2 separate regions of the Homo sapiens genome follow, and region 2 is linked to region 1. Evidence: promoter capture Hi-C in 16 types of primary human blood cells and fetal thymus (Javierre and others, 2016). All regions are on one chromosome and are shown on one strand. The core of a region is centred on a gene start or on the middle of the fragment in contact, and the rest is flanking DNA. Distances in the headings are between cores, read along the strand shown.

Evidence for each region. The method cuts DNA at HindIII sites, captures the fragments that hold promoters and counts their contacts. A CHiCAGO score of 5 or more calls a contact.
Region 2: a fragment that was not itself captured here is called in contact with the fragment with the promoter of SUPT7L in region 1 in 1 of 17 cell types (endothelial precursors); the score reaches 5.5 in endothelial precursors.

The regions. Positions count from the first base shown.
Region 1 is chr2:27,661,550-27,667,468 of GRCh38, forward strand. SUPT7L (SPT7 like, STAGA complex subunit gamma) reads right to left here and starts at 2,065. Exons shown (of 6, transcript NM_014860.3): 1 at 1,780-2,065; 2 at 630-732. The coding sequence starts at 643. It overlaps SLC4A1AP (solute carrier family 4 member 1 adaptor protein), which reads left to right and starts at 2,340. Exons shown (of 14, transcript NM_018158.3): 1 at 2,340-3,028; 2 at 3,551-3,746; 3 at 5,719-5,841. The coding sequence starts at 2,366. The HindIII fragment of the contact is 6,150 bases long and covers 1-3,090 here.
Region 2 is chr2:28,425,260-28,431,178 of GRCh38, forward strand. No RefSeq gene overlaps it. Among named protein-coding and RNA genes, the nearest start is that of FOSL2-AS1, 34 kb to the left of the region's middle. The HindIII fragment of the contact is 1,724 bases long and covers 2,840-4,563 here.

The sequences.
Region 1 (5,919 bases), core at 815-3,314:
CACTTAGAAAAATGTCAGTGTCAGCAAAACTGTAGGACCAAAGGTGTTCTCCCTAAATAAATTAAGAGAAATGTAACTGTTAGATGCTGGTTATTGTCATACTATGACAATTCCTACTACACTGAACCACAGGGTAGAATTTGGGTCATTAGTGGACCAATAGCTACAACAGCATCTGGAGCTCTAGTATCCCTATTTCCCATCTCACTCACTAACTCATTACCAGAACTACCATCACGCTCAATCCTGAACAATAAGCAAGGCATGATAAGGTATCTTGATACATCTGTGCTGGATCAATAGGAGAAAAACTAGTAGGGTTAAAGATAATAAGAAGTGGTTCTTACTCTGTGTGTCTTAGGCATGATCCTGGTGGAAAAATTTATGAACCATTAATCTAAATGGCATTATGCTTTCAACTTTTGACATATAGAACGTGAGAGATTTCTGCTGCCTTCTAACTGGTATCCCTTCCTCCAATCTCTCTTTGTATGTCATCTATTCTCTACACTGCTGCTAGACTTACTCTTTTTAAAACTTAAATCAAATGGCTTCCCATTGCCTATTGGAAAAAGTCAGAATTCCTTGGCTTACCATTCAACAAAATTCACAATCTGGTTTCAACTCACCTTTGCAGATTCATTGTCCATATGTCTCTTCAAGTTCAACAAACATTTATCAAATGCCAGGCATTCTGTGTCGGTCAAAGACTGATAATGTGAGATCCTTGCCCTGAAGTGAGGAAGAGAAACAGAAGCAGAATATTTCAATATGAAACATGGTAAGTACTGTTCTAGAGGTATATGGACCTGGGGTACTGGAAGCACAAAGGAGGAGCTTCCTGGGTGAAATGACTACCTTTGTTCTAACAACATTATACTACTCAGTTTCTTGAGAATGCTGTACATTTCCACAATTGACACTTTCAGCTGTGAACTCTGCCAGAAATGCTCTGCCAACCTTGCACATCCCTGGCAGACTCATATTCATTTTTAAGTACAGCATAAGTCCCCACCGTCCGTCACTTCACCAGTGCATCTCCCTTTCTCTATTCTCACAGTGCTTTGCAAGTCTATGTCACAGCAGTTATCCTTGGATTTTAATTAGTACTTATCGCAATAGATTTTTTCTGCCCGTCTATTTCTTATGGCTGTGGTCTTGTTACAGGGCCAGGCACACAGAAATATCTGGCATTTGTTGAATGTTTACTATATGCCAGACTTCACCTTTTTTGTTTGTTTCTTTTTTGAGACAGGGTTTCACTCTGTAGCCCAGGCTGGAGTGCAGTGGTGCAGTCATGGTTCACTGCAGCCTCAACCTCCTGGGACCAAGCAATCCTCCCACCTCAGCCTCTGGAGTAGCTGGGACTACAGGCGCGCACCATCAAACCTGGATTTTTTCTTTTTTTTTTTTTTTTTTGGCGAGACAGGGTCTCGCCATGTTGCCCAGCCTCCTCTGGAACTCCTGGGCTCAAGCAATCCTCCCGCCTCAGCCTCCCAAAATGTTGGGATTACAGGCATGAGCCACCGGTCTGGCTGGCCTTTATTGTTTGATTCAATTCTTCCAACAACCCTATGAGGCTAATAATCTTATCCCCATTTTTCAGAGTGAGGGCTGAGGCCTAGTGTCTTGCCCAATGTCACAAATGGCGAGGTCAAAAATCGACAGTCTCCAGAGTCTGCTCTCTTAACCACTTAACTATTCTGCCTTAATAATTTCAGAAAAAAAATAAATGAATGAACGAAATAACAAAAAAGTCGCCCTCTTCCCTTACTTTACCGAAAGGAGCACGAAGAACAGGCACGGAGCCCAAGGAATGCCCAAGTCCCTCCAGGGGTTTCCTCGGTCACGGTCCGCCGGCGCAGGCGCCAATCACAGGGTCCTGAGGTCGCCTGACGTTCAGGGCAGCCGGAAGACGGGGAGGTCTGGACCTGAACCGAGACAAGGAGGTACCACACTATTCACTGCTGCGTCGCAGAGCGGGCTGGGCGGCTGTCTGGACCTCGAGAGGCCTGAGGCAAGGATCGCGTCAGACCCCGAAAGCTGGTTTGTTGATTAGTGATCTAAGACCGCCGGAAGCGCTTCTTCTCAATCAAGCTATGCAACAGGAAGTCATTACGATCCCGTTGTAACCTCTAAATATGTCCCCGTTCTGCACAGCATCCCGATAACCGTTTTGTTTTTCTCATATTATGACCTTCTCATGTTAGCACCACTTCGCAACGCTCCAGGTCGTGAAGGAGCAACTTCACCATCGCCGCCTACAGACGCCACTGGGAGCTTGGGAGAGTGGGACGTGGACAGGAACGTAAAGACCGAAGGGTGGGTTTCGAAGGAGCGGATTTCGAAGTTGCACCGGTTGAGGATGGCTGACATTCTCTCTCAGTCAGAGACCCTGGCGTCGCAAGACCTCAGTGGGGACTTCAAGAAGCCAGCTCTGCCGGTGTCCCCAGCGGCGCGGAGTAAGGCCCCGGCCAGCAGTTCTTCAAACCCTGAGGAGGTACAGAAGGAAGGGCCCACTGCGTTGCAGGACTCCAATTCTGGGGAGCCCGACATCCCTCCTCCTCAGCCGGACTGCGGTGATTTTAGGAGTCTACAGGAGGAGCAGTCGCGCCCCCCGACAGCGGTTTCTTCCCCTGGCGGTCCAGCCCGGGCTCCCCCCTACCAAGAGCCTCCATGGGGTGGCCCTGCCACAGCCCCCTACAGCTTAGAGACCCTGAAGGGCGGCACTATCCTTGGCACCCGTAGCTTGAAAGGGACGAGTTACTGCCTTTTCGGGAGGCTGTCTGGCTGCGACGTGTGCCTGGAGCACCCTTCGGTGTCTCGGTACCACGCAGTGCTGCAGCACAGGGCGTCCGGCCCTGACGGAGAATGCGACAGCAACGGGCCGGGCTTCTACCTCTACGATCTGGGAAGCACCCATGGCACTTTTCTCAACAAAACTCGCATCCCACCTCGCACCTACTGTCGAGTCCACGTTGGGCATGTTGTTCGCTTTGGAGGCAGCACCCGGCTCTTTATCCTGCAGGTAGGTAGAAAAACCTAGAATTGAAATTTCGGGTTCATTGGACTGCGTTCTTGTGCTTCTTAAGCTTTGGATGAGGAAGAAGAATCTCCCACTCAGCGATTACGAAAGTGAAGGAATCAAGTCTGGCCTATCATCTTCAGACGGCTGTACACATTGCTATATTTCTGAAAGTCATGTTCACAATCCCGAACTCTAAAATAACTTGTTTGGCCAGGCGCGGTGGCTCGCGCCTGTAATCCCAACACTTTGGGAGGCCCAGGCGGGAGGATCGCTTTAGCCCAGGAGTTTGAGAGGAGGCTGGGCAACATGGCAAGACCCTGTCTCTTAAAAAAAAAAAAAAAAATTAGCCAGGCATCATGGTCCCAGCTGCTCAGGAGGCTGAGGTGGGAGGATCACCTGAGCCCAGGAGGTCAAGGCTGCAGTGAGGTGTATTACAGCCACTGCACTCCAGTCCAGCCTAGGCGACAGAGCAAGACCCTGTCTCTAAATAAATAAATAACCTTTTTTTCCTTGGTTCATCAGGGACCAGAGGAAGACCGAGAGGCAGAATCCGAGTTAACAGTAACACAGTTGAAGGAATTGCGCAAGCAGCAGCAAATATTGTTGGAGAAGAAGATGCTAGGAGAAGACTCAGATGAAGAAGAGGAAATGGATACCTCTGAAAGGAAGATAAATGCTGGTAGCCAAGATGATGAGATGGGTTGCACCTGGGGAATGGGTAAGAAATTAAAATTGCTGCCGGAGGTTAATATTTTAAGTTCATTACAAGTGGTACCCTTAAATGTTTTTTTAAATCATACAGCTTTTCATGGCTCCTTGAGATAGATAGGGCAAACACAATTTGCACATGAGGTAACCAAAACCCAGAGAGATTCACTGACTTTACTGTTGTAAAGAAATTGACTTATAGGCACTTTGGATTTTTTAAAAATTTATTTTTAATGCACTCTCTTGTTCAAAACTTGTCCTAAGCATAAAATTATTATTTTTACAATTCTAAAATTTTATATTTATTAAGTACTGACCTTGTGCTATGTGATTATCATTGGAGGGGATGGAACTCTATTCAATCAAATAAATGGGATGTTATTCAATATAGGATATTCTCTTGAATTTTTTGTACTTTGTGAAGATATCCTGAAATGTGGAATATCTAATCAGATAAAGCTGGTCCCTTAGCCAAAATAATAAACTTTCTTTAACACCAGATATTTTAGAAAATGGATATTCAGGAGATGGGAGTATAAAAAGGTAGAAGATGGCATTAATATATAGTTGGGAAGATAGGAAAAATTATGAAATTACTTGTGCTAAGTGCCAAACAAAAGCTAGAAACCATAAGTATGCTAGAGTGAAAGTTTGGAGAAGAGAGAACAGTCACTGGGGACTTAGACCTGTGTTGTCTGATATGGTAGCCACTAGCCACATGTGGTTACTGAGCACTTGCAGTGTGGCTAGTTGCAATTGATGTGTGCTGTAAATGCAAAATACACACTGAATTTCAAAGACTTAGTCTGAAAAAAAGAATGTAAAATATCTCTTTCATGATATTTTTATATTGATGACATGTTGAAATGACAATAATTTTACCTGTTTCCTTTTAATTTTTTAATGTGGCTAATAGAAAATTTAAGATGACGCATACAGCTGTCATTATATTTCTGTTGGACAGCACTGACTTAGATCTTTGGGAAACTTAATTTTTTTTATTTTAGTAGAGATGGGGTTTCACCATATTGGCCAGGCTGGTCTTGAACTCCTGACCTTGTGATCCACCCCCCACCCCCCCCCCCCACCCCGCCCCCCGGCCTCCCAAAGTGTAGAGATTACAGGCGTGAGCGATCGCACTCCACAGGGAAGCTTTATGAGCATAAGGATTTTGAGCTGGAACTTGAAGGAAAGGAAAAGCCTTATGAAGCTGAGTATTGGGATTGGTATTCAGGGTAGGAATTGATGATTTTAAGGAAGTTGTGAGTAGACCAGTCTATTTGGCAGATATAAGAAGTATTAGGAAATTATATTGGGAACGAAAGTTAGATATGAGTGTGAGAGAACAAGAATGCCAGGCTGAGGAGCTCAAATTTTTTTTCCACAATGTGGTAGGTAATTTTACTTTTAAAATATAATGATGGAGAAAAAAAAATTAAGGTGCCATGAAAACAAGTTTTGACTTGTCACACAATTTAGAAAACCTGAATATGCTCATACTAGTGGTTTTGTGGTGGTTGTTCCACCCCCTGTCCCTGCAAGTATTTATTATTTTTCATCACAGATAAACTATATATATATATATATTTTTTTTTTTTTGGGAGACGGTCTCACTGTGTTGCTTGGGTTGGAGTGCAGGTAGCGCGATCTTGGCTCACTACAACTTCTTCCTCCCAGGTTCAAGCAATTCTCCTGCCTCAGCCTCCCAAGTAGCTGGGATTACAGACACCCGCCACTGTGCCCAGCTAATTTTTTTTGTATTTTTAGTAGAGATGGGGTTTCACCATGTTGGCCAAGCTGGTCTTGAACTCCTGACCTTGTGATCCACCTGCCTTGGCCTCCCAAAGTGCTGGGATTACAGGCATGAGCCACTGCGCCCAGCCTAAACTATATCTTTATGCAGCCTGAGAGAATAGTGGGTATCATTCAAATAGTCTCTTCTCATGTCTGATTATCTTTTCTTTCTTTTCCATATCCTGTAGGAGAAGATGCAGTAGAGGATGATGCTGAAGAGAACCCTATTGTCTTAGAGTTTCAGCAGGAAAGGGAGGCCTTTTATATAAAGGATCCCAAAAAGGCTCTCCAAGGCTTTTTTGACCGAGAAGGTATGTAAACAGATTCTGACCCTACCACTAAAACATATCCAGAGCAGTGTGGTTTTCTAGAGCTTCATGTTGAGCTTT
Region 2 (5,919 bases), core at 2,452-4,951, 770 kb after region 1:
TGGACTAAAGGTCAGGGGTTTCTCTTCTATTCTTTTCTTTAGGTAAAGCCCCATGATTAATTCTGTCAGGGCTTCTTGATATCTTAAAGAGGGAGCTAAAGACAACAGAACATCTTTTTTCTTTTAAAAATAATGTCTTTTGAGACTATTGTCTGGCTGAAAAATCTTATTTTGGAGGTCAGAAGCTATTCATTATCTTCCTCTCCATTTTTTTCTTTGATAATCCTAGTCCCTTTCCCCAAGGAAGCAGATGTTTGAGCTGAGCAGGAAGAAGGTCACATGCACAGAAATGCAAAAGAGAAATGCAATTAATCCTATTTTTCAAAATAGGGTCCTGTTTACATCATCAAGGACTTCCTATTTTGCTTAGGGTAAGTCCAAAATGTGTAATAGGGTCGTTCTGGTCTGAGCCCTACTTATCGCCCCAGCCTCATCCGATCAGTCTCCCAGCCTCACACTCTTCACCGCAACTACCCTGGACTTCTCTCACTTCCTTCACCACAGGTTGCTCAGGACGTTCCCAAAAGCTTCAGTGTTGGCCAACTCCTGTTCATCTCCCAAGTTTTGATTTCAAAGTCCCTCCTGGTCTTGAGAAGGATTTTCTTGACTCATAGCATCCCTCAGAGCACCTTGCATCCTTATGATTAATTCATTAATTTTTTTATGGTTATTTTTGATTAAACACCTCTGTTTTCCAGTAGAACACCAATAGCAGGAGTGCAAGAATGACGTTCTGTCTGCTGGGAGCCTCGTTAGGTCATCATTATCCCTAGCCTGGATTAGACAGATGTGTTTCTAAAACGTACATCTGCGCAAAACCCTTCAGTGGTCCCTCTTTTTACTCAGGTCGCTCTTTTTACTCAGTCAAACTCCTTTATGTCGCTTCCAAGGCCCTGCATGATCTGGCCCCAACTTCTTCTGTCCTTACCCCCCATCTTCTTCAACCTTCATCTAGACCGAAATACCACTCAGTGTAATAAAAGGGCTGACCCTCTTGCCTACAAGTCTCCAGATATGCTCTACCCATTTTTTCTGGTAGAGACAACTCCTATTAATTCTTCAGCTCTTGGCTGATAGATTGCCTGCTTGATTCATTAACTTGTTCACTCATCCCCGTTCTAGTTGCCAGGAACTACCCTGAGTGCTGAGGAACAGTGAACAAGACAGACCCGGCCTGCCCTCCCCCGCCCCGCATCTGTCTCCTCCGTGTTGTCTTCCCTCACCAGCCTCACCTCCAGGCTGAATTAGTTGTCTCTCCTCTGGGTCCCCTGGCTCTCTGTAAAACTGCTAGTGTTGCCTTATCACAGTTTTAATGACACTTAACCTGTCTCTCCCCGCTGCTAGCCTATGGGCTATTTGTTGAATGCATCTATGACTCCTCAAAGTACTCTGCTAAGGGTAATTAAAAGGAATAGGATGTTATGAATTAGATGAAAAATAAAAATCAAACACTATTGGAATTAACTGTTTTTTTCCTTCAAAGCAACTGATGACATTGATATGAAATTGGAAATATTTAACCGTTTGCAAATTCTTTTTATGCTAATAGAGCCAACATTTCAACAGCTATTACTTCACTTTTTATTTGTGTAATGAGAAAATTTAGAATTAAAAATGTACAAAATTGAAAAAAAAAAAAAGGAATAGGAGGCTGAGTATGGTGGCTCATGCCTGTGATCCCAGCACATTGGGAGGCAGAGGCAGGAGGATCACTTGAGGCCAAGAATTCGAGACCAGCCTGGGCAACATGGCGAAACTCAGTCTCTACAAAAAACAAGTTTTAAAAATTAGTTGGCCGTAGTGGTGCATGCTGTAGTCCCAGCTACTCAGGAGGCTGAGGTGGGAGTGTCACTTGAGCCTGGGAGGTTGAGGCTGCAGTGAGCTACGGTCACGTCACTGCACTCCAGCCTGGGCAACAGAGTGAGTCCCTTTTTCAAAAAATAAAAAAGAGAAATAGGAAATAGCATAGAATGGAGGAGCTGAGCCACAGGTGCTGCTGGTGGGCGCACAGGGCAAGGTGGACAAGGGACGGGGAGGGAGACAAAGGCAGAAGAGGTCCCTTCTCCTCCTCCTTCCTCAGGGAGTAATGGAAAATAACTTGGACCCAGACACAAAAGGCCACATGTTGTATGATTCCATTTATTCCATTACCAGACTGGGTAAACCCAAAGAGACAGAACACAGATTGGTGGCTGTCCGGGGCTAGGAAGAGGGCGAAAAGCGACACTGGCTGCTTAACAGGGATGGGGTTTCTCTTTGGAGTGATGAGAGTGTTGGAACTAGATAAAAGTGGTAGCTGCACAGCGTCGTGAATGTGCTAAATGCCACTGAATTGTTCACTTTAAAATGGTCAATTTCGTTGTTTTTTATTTATTTTGTGGAGATGGGCTTTCTCCATGTTGGCCAGGCTGGTCTCGAACTCCTGGCCTCATGTCATTCACCCACCTTGGTCTCCCAAAGTGCTGGGATTACAGGCATGAGCCACCATGCCTGGCCTAAAATGGTTAATTTTTATGTTATGTGAATTTCGCATCAAAAAGAGACAAAGAAAGAGCTTGGATCTGGAGAGAGGGGAGCGCCATGGGGGCCTTTTCCTCTCCTAGTCCCTGATGACGTTCCAGTGACTCCTCAGATTCTGGGGCTGGCCGGGTCTCTTCTGACTAGAAAGAGGGCCTTGCAGAGCCACCCGGGTCCTCTCTTGGCACAGGTAAGCTTGGACAACTGGACATTGGCCCCTGCGCATGCCAGGGCACTGCAAGAGCATCGCAAGCTTCTCAGACACAGGACCTGGATGGATGACAGTCTTTCCTTCATGGAGCAGAAGAAGGATGCCTCAGGAAGCTTCTGCACCAAGAATGAGGCCTCAAAAGCAAGGGTCAGGAAATGTGGGAGTGTTTGTAAGGGCATGGGATTGGCTTGTCTAGCTGAGGGGACAGTGTGGTCAAACAGAAACTACCCAGAGTATGGAACCAGAAGTGCTGCTCTACCAACTAATAGTTGTGTAATCTTAAGCAAGTCACTTTCATCTGTGATTTAAAATAAAAGTCTCGGCCGGGTGCAGTGGCTCACACCTGTAATCCCAGCATTTTGGGAGGCCAAGGCTGCCAGATCGTTGAGCTCAGGAGTTTGAGAGCAGCCTGGGCAACATGGCAAAAACCCATCTCTACAAAAAATACAAAAAATAGCAGAGCATGGTGGTGTGTGCCTGTAGTCCCAGCTACTTGGGGGACAGAGGCAGGAGGATCACTTGGGCCCAGGAGATTGAGGCCGCAGTGAGCCATGTTTGGGCCACTGCACCCCAGTCTGGATGACAAAGCAAAATCCTGTCTCAAAAAATAAAATAAAATAAAGTTTCATTCATTGCCAGTGGGAATGCAAAACAGAACAAATACTTTGGAAGACAGTTTGGTGGTTTTTCACAAAATTAAACATATTGTTACCAGGCGACTCAGCAATTATGCTCCTTGGTATTTACCCAAAGGAACTGAAAATGTACATCCACACAGAAACCTGCACACCAATTTTATAGCAGCTTTATTCACAATTGCTAAAACTTAGACGCTACAAGGATGACCCTCAGTAGATGCTGAATAAATAAACTGGGGTATATCCAGACAATGGAATACTATTCAGTATTCAGTGCTACAAAAAAAAAAAAATATGAGCCATGAAACCACAAAAAGACATGGAAAAAACTTAACTGCATGTCTGTAAGTGAGGGAATCCTAGTGTAAACTGTGGAATCCAGGTGATAATGATAAGTCAGTGCAGGTTCATTGATGGAAAGAAATGCACCACTCTGGTTGGAGCTGTTGACAGTGGAGGACCCTATGCACGTGTGTGGGCAGGGAGTATCTGGGATCACTCTGTACTTTCTGCTTAATTTTGCTGTGAACCTAAAACCACTCTAAAAAATAAAGGCTATTTTTAAAAGTTGGTTTGAGACCAGCCTGGGCAATATGGTGGGACCCCATCTTTATAAAAAAATTTAAAAAGTTAGCCAGGTATGCTGATGTGCCACTTGTAATACTAGCTACTCGGGAGGCTGAGGCAGGAGGATCACTTGAGCCTGAGAGATCAAGGCTGCTGTGAACTGGGATTTGGCACCACTGCACCCAGCCTGGGCAACAGAGTACGACCCTGTCTCAAAAAAAAAAAAAAAAAAAAAAAAATCGGACCTGAAAAAGAGAAAATAAAAGCTGTTGGTTTTGAGTGCTTACTCTGCAGCAGTGCAAAGCATTGCACACCCACTCTGTTTTTAGTCCCCACAATTACCTCCAGGTTATACATGAGAAAAAAACAGGCTCCGACAAATGGGTGACTTGTCCAAGGCTACCCATCTGGTCATCGAGGAGCCACAGAGGACTCTGCAGTGCCTGCTGTTGGTCACCTTTCTGCCTCGGTTGACCACCAAAATGATGAAAATAGTAATATCCCCTGCTGGTTGGCTGTGAGCATTAAATGAGCCTTGGACAAAAAGGCCCTTTGTAGAGGTTTTCATAGGAGTTATTGTTTTATTAAATGGATGATTAGGAAGTTGCTGTGTGAAGAATGTATGGACTAAGCTTTTGCAAAGGAGGGCTCAGTTTAAACTCAAGCCAGCATGCTATTGCTGAGATGTGAGAAATAGATGACAATCAGTAGCCCTTCTTAGACAAGTCAAAAGACCTCTGGAGCCTGCAAGAGCAAGCAACAGTGTGGGTTGTGGAGGCCACAGGGCTCCTACTGCTCCATGTCATGCAGGGCCTGATGGTGGACTAGGGCCATCTCTGCCTATCCCCTGTGCACAAAGCTGAGAGCCCAAGCCCTCAAGCAGCGGTGAGGTGGAGTGCAAAGGAACCTAGGCAACCTCTCTCAATTTTTCATGCTGAGGATGGAGCACATAACTGGCCCAGAGGGATCCCAGCTGGGAGTTTTAGCAGGTGCTTTGGAACTGGCCATTCCAGGGTTTAAAGTCCTTATTTGTTGAGTGACCTTGAACACGTTACTTAACCTCCTTGAACTTTCATTTTCTCATCTGCAAAATGAGGATAATAATATCTATTTCATAGGGTTGTCATAAGGATTACATGAGATAATGTGCTAAAGTCACTCAAATATAGTAAGTGCTGCAGGGTGGTTAATGCTATCATTATGTAGTCGTTGTCCTTATTATAACAAGAGGAAGGGTAAACCCAGAGAGTTGAAGCAATTTGTCCAAGGCCACACAGTAGCTAGCTGCAGGCCTGGGCTTCCTCCGGGGTCACGATTTCCACCCCTTCCTAAGTCGGGGCTTTTCTGAGAATCCTTAACAGGTCAGATGAACTGATAGTCTGCACCTCACGCCCTAAGTGCTGCCTCTCTACACCTTTTGACAATGGCATTAGAACACCACAGGCTGCCACTGCTTCCAGCTCAGCCACTAATGCACCACTTGCCAGGCAAACTGTGGAGGTTTTGTTGAGCTGCTCTGCACTGATCCCCTGCCCTCTTCCTGGGAGAGGGTCCTTCCTGTGGGAGGTAGCTGTGCTCCCGAGTGGGTCAGCATACCTGTCCATCTCCATGAGCCATTGGAGGATTCTGAAGGCCCTGGCATGCTGGTCCTGCAGCCAGAATCAGTATCCAGATCCATCCCCTACAACCTGCCTCTCCAGAGTGGAACCAAACCCATCAGTATTTCTGACTTTGTGACGCCTACTTCCACCTTCTCAGCAGGGCTTCCTGGCACACAGATGTTTTCACAATGGCCCCTGAGATAATGAAAGACACCTCGGCATTGTGACACAGAGCTAAGGAGCTCTGGCCCATATGAGGCTGTCTCTGATGCCCAACCCTGGGCATTTGGTGACCAGCAGGTGTGCTCGGCTCAGCCCTGGGAGGATCTCCCTGTTTAGTGTCTCTGCTACTCTGGAACCCCACCTCCTCCTGTCCTCTCCTCTC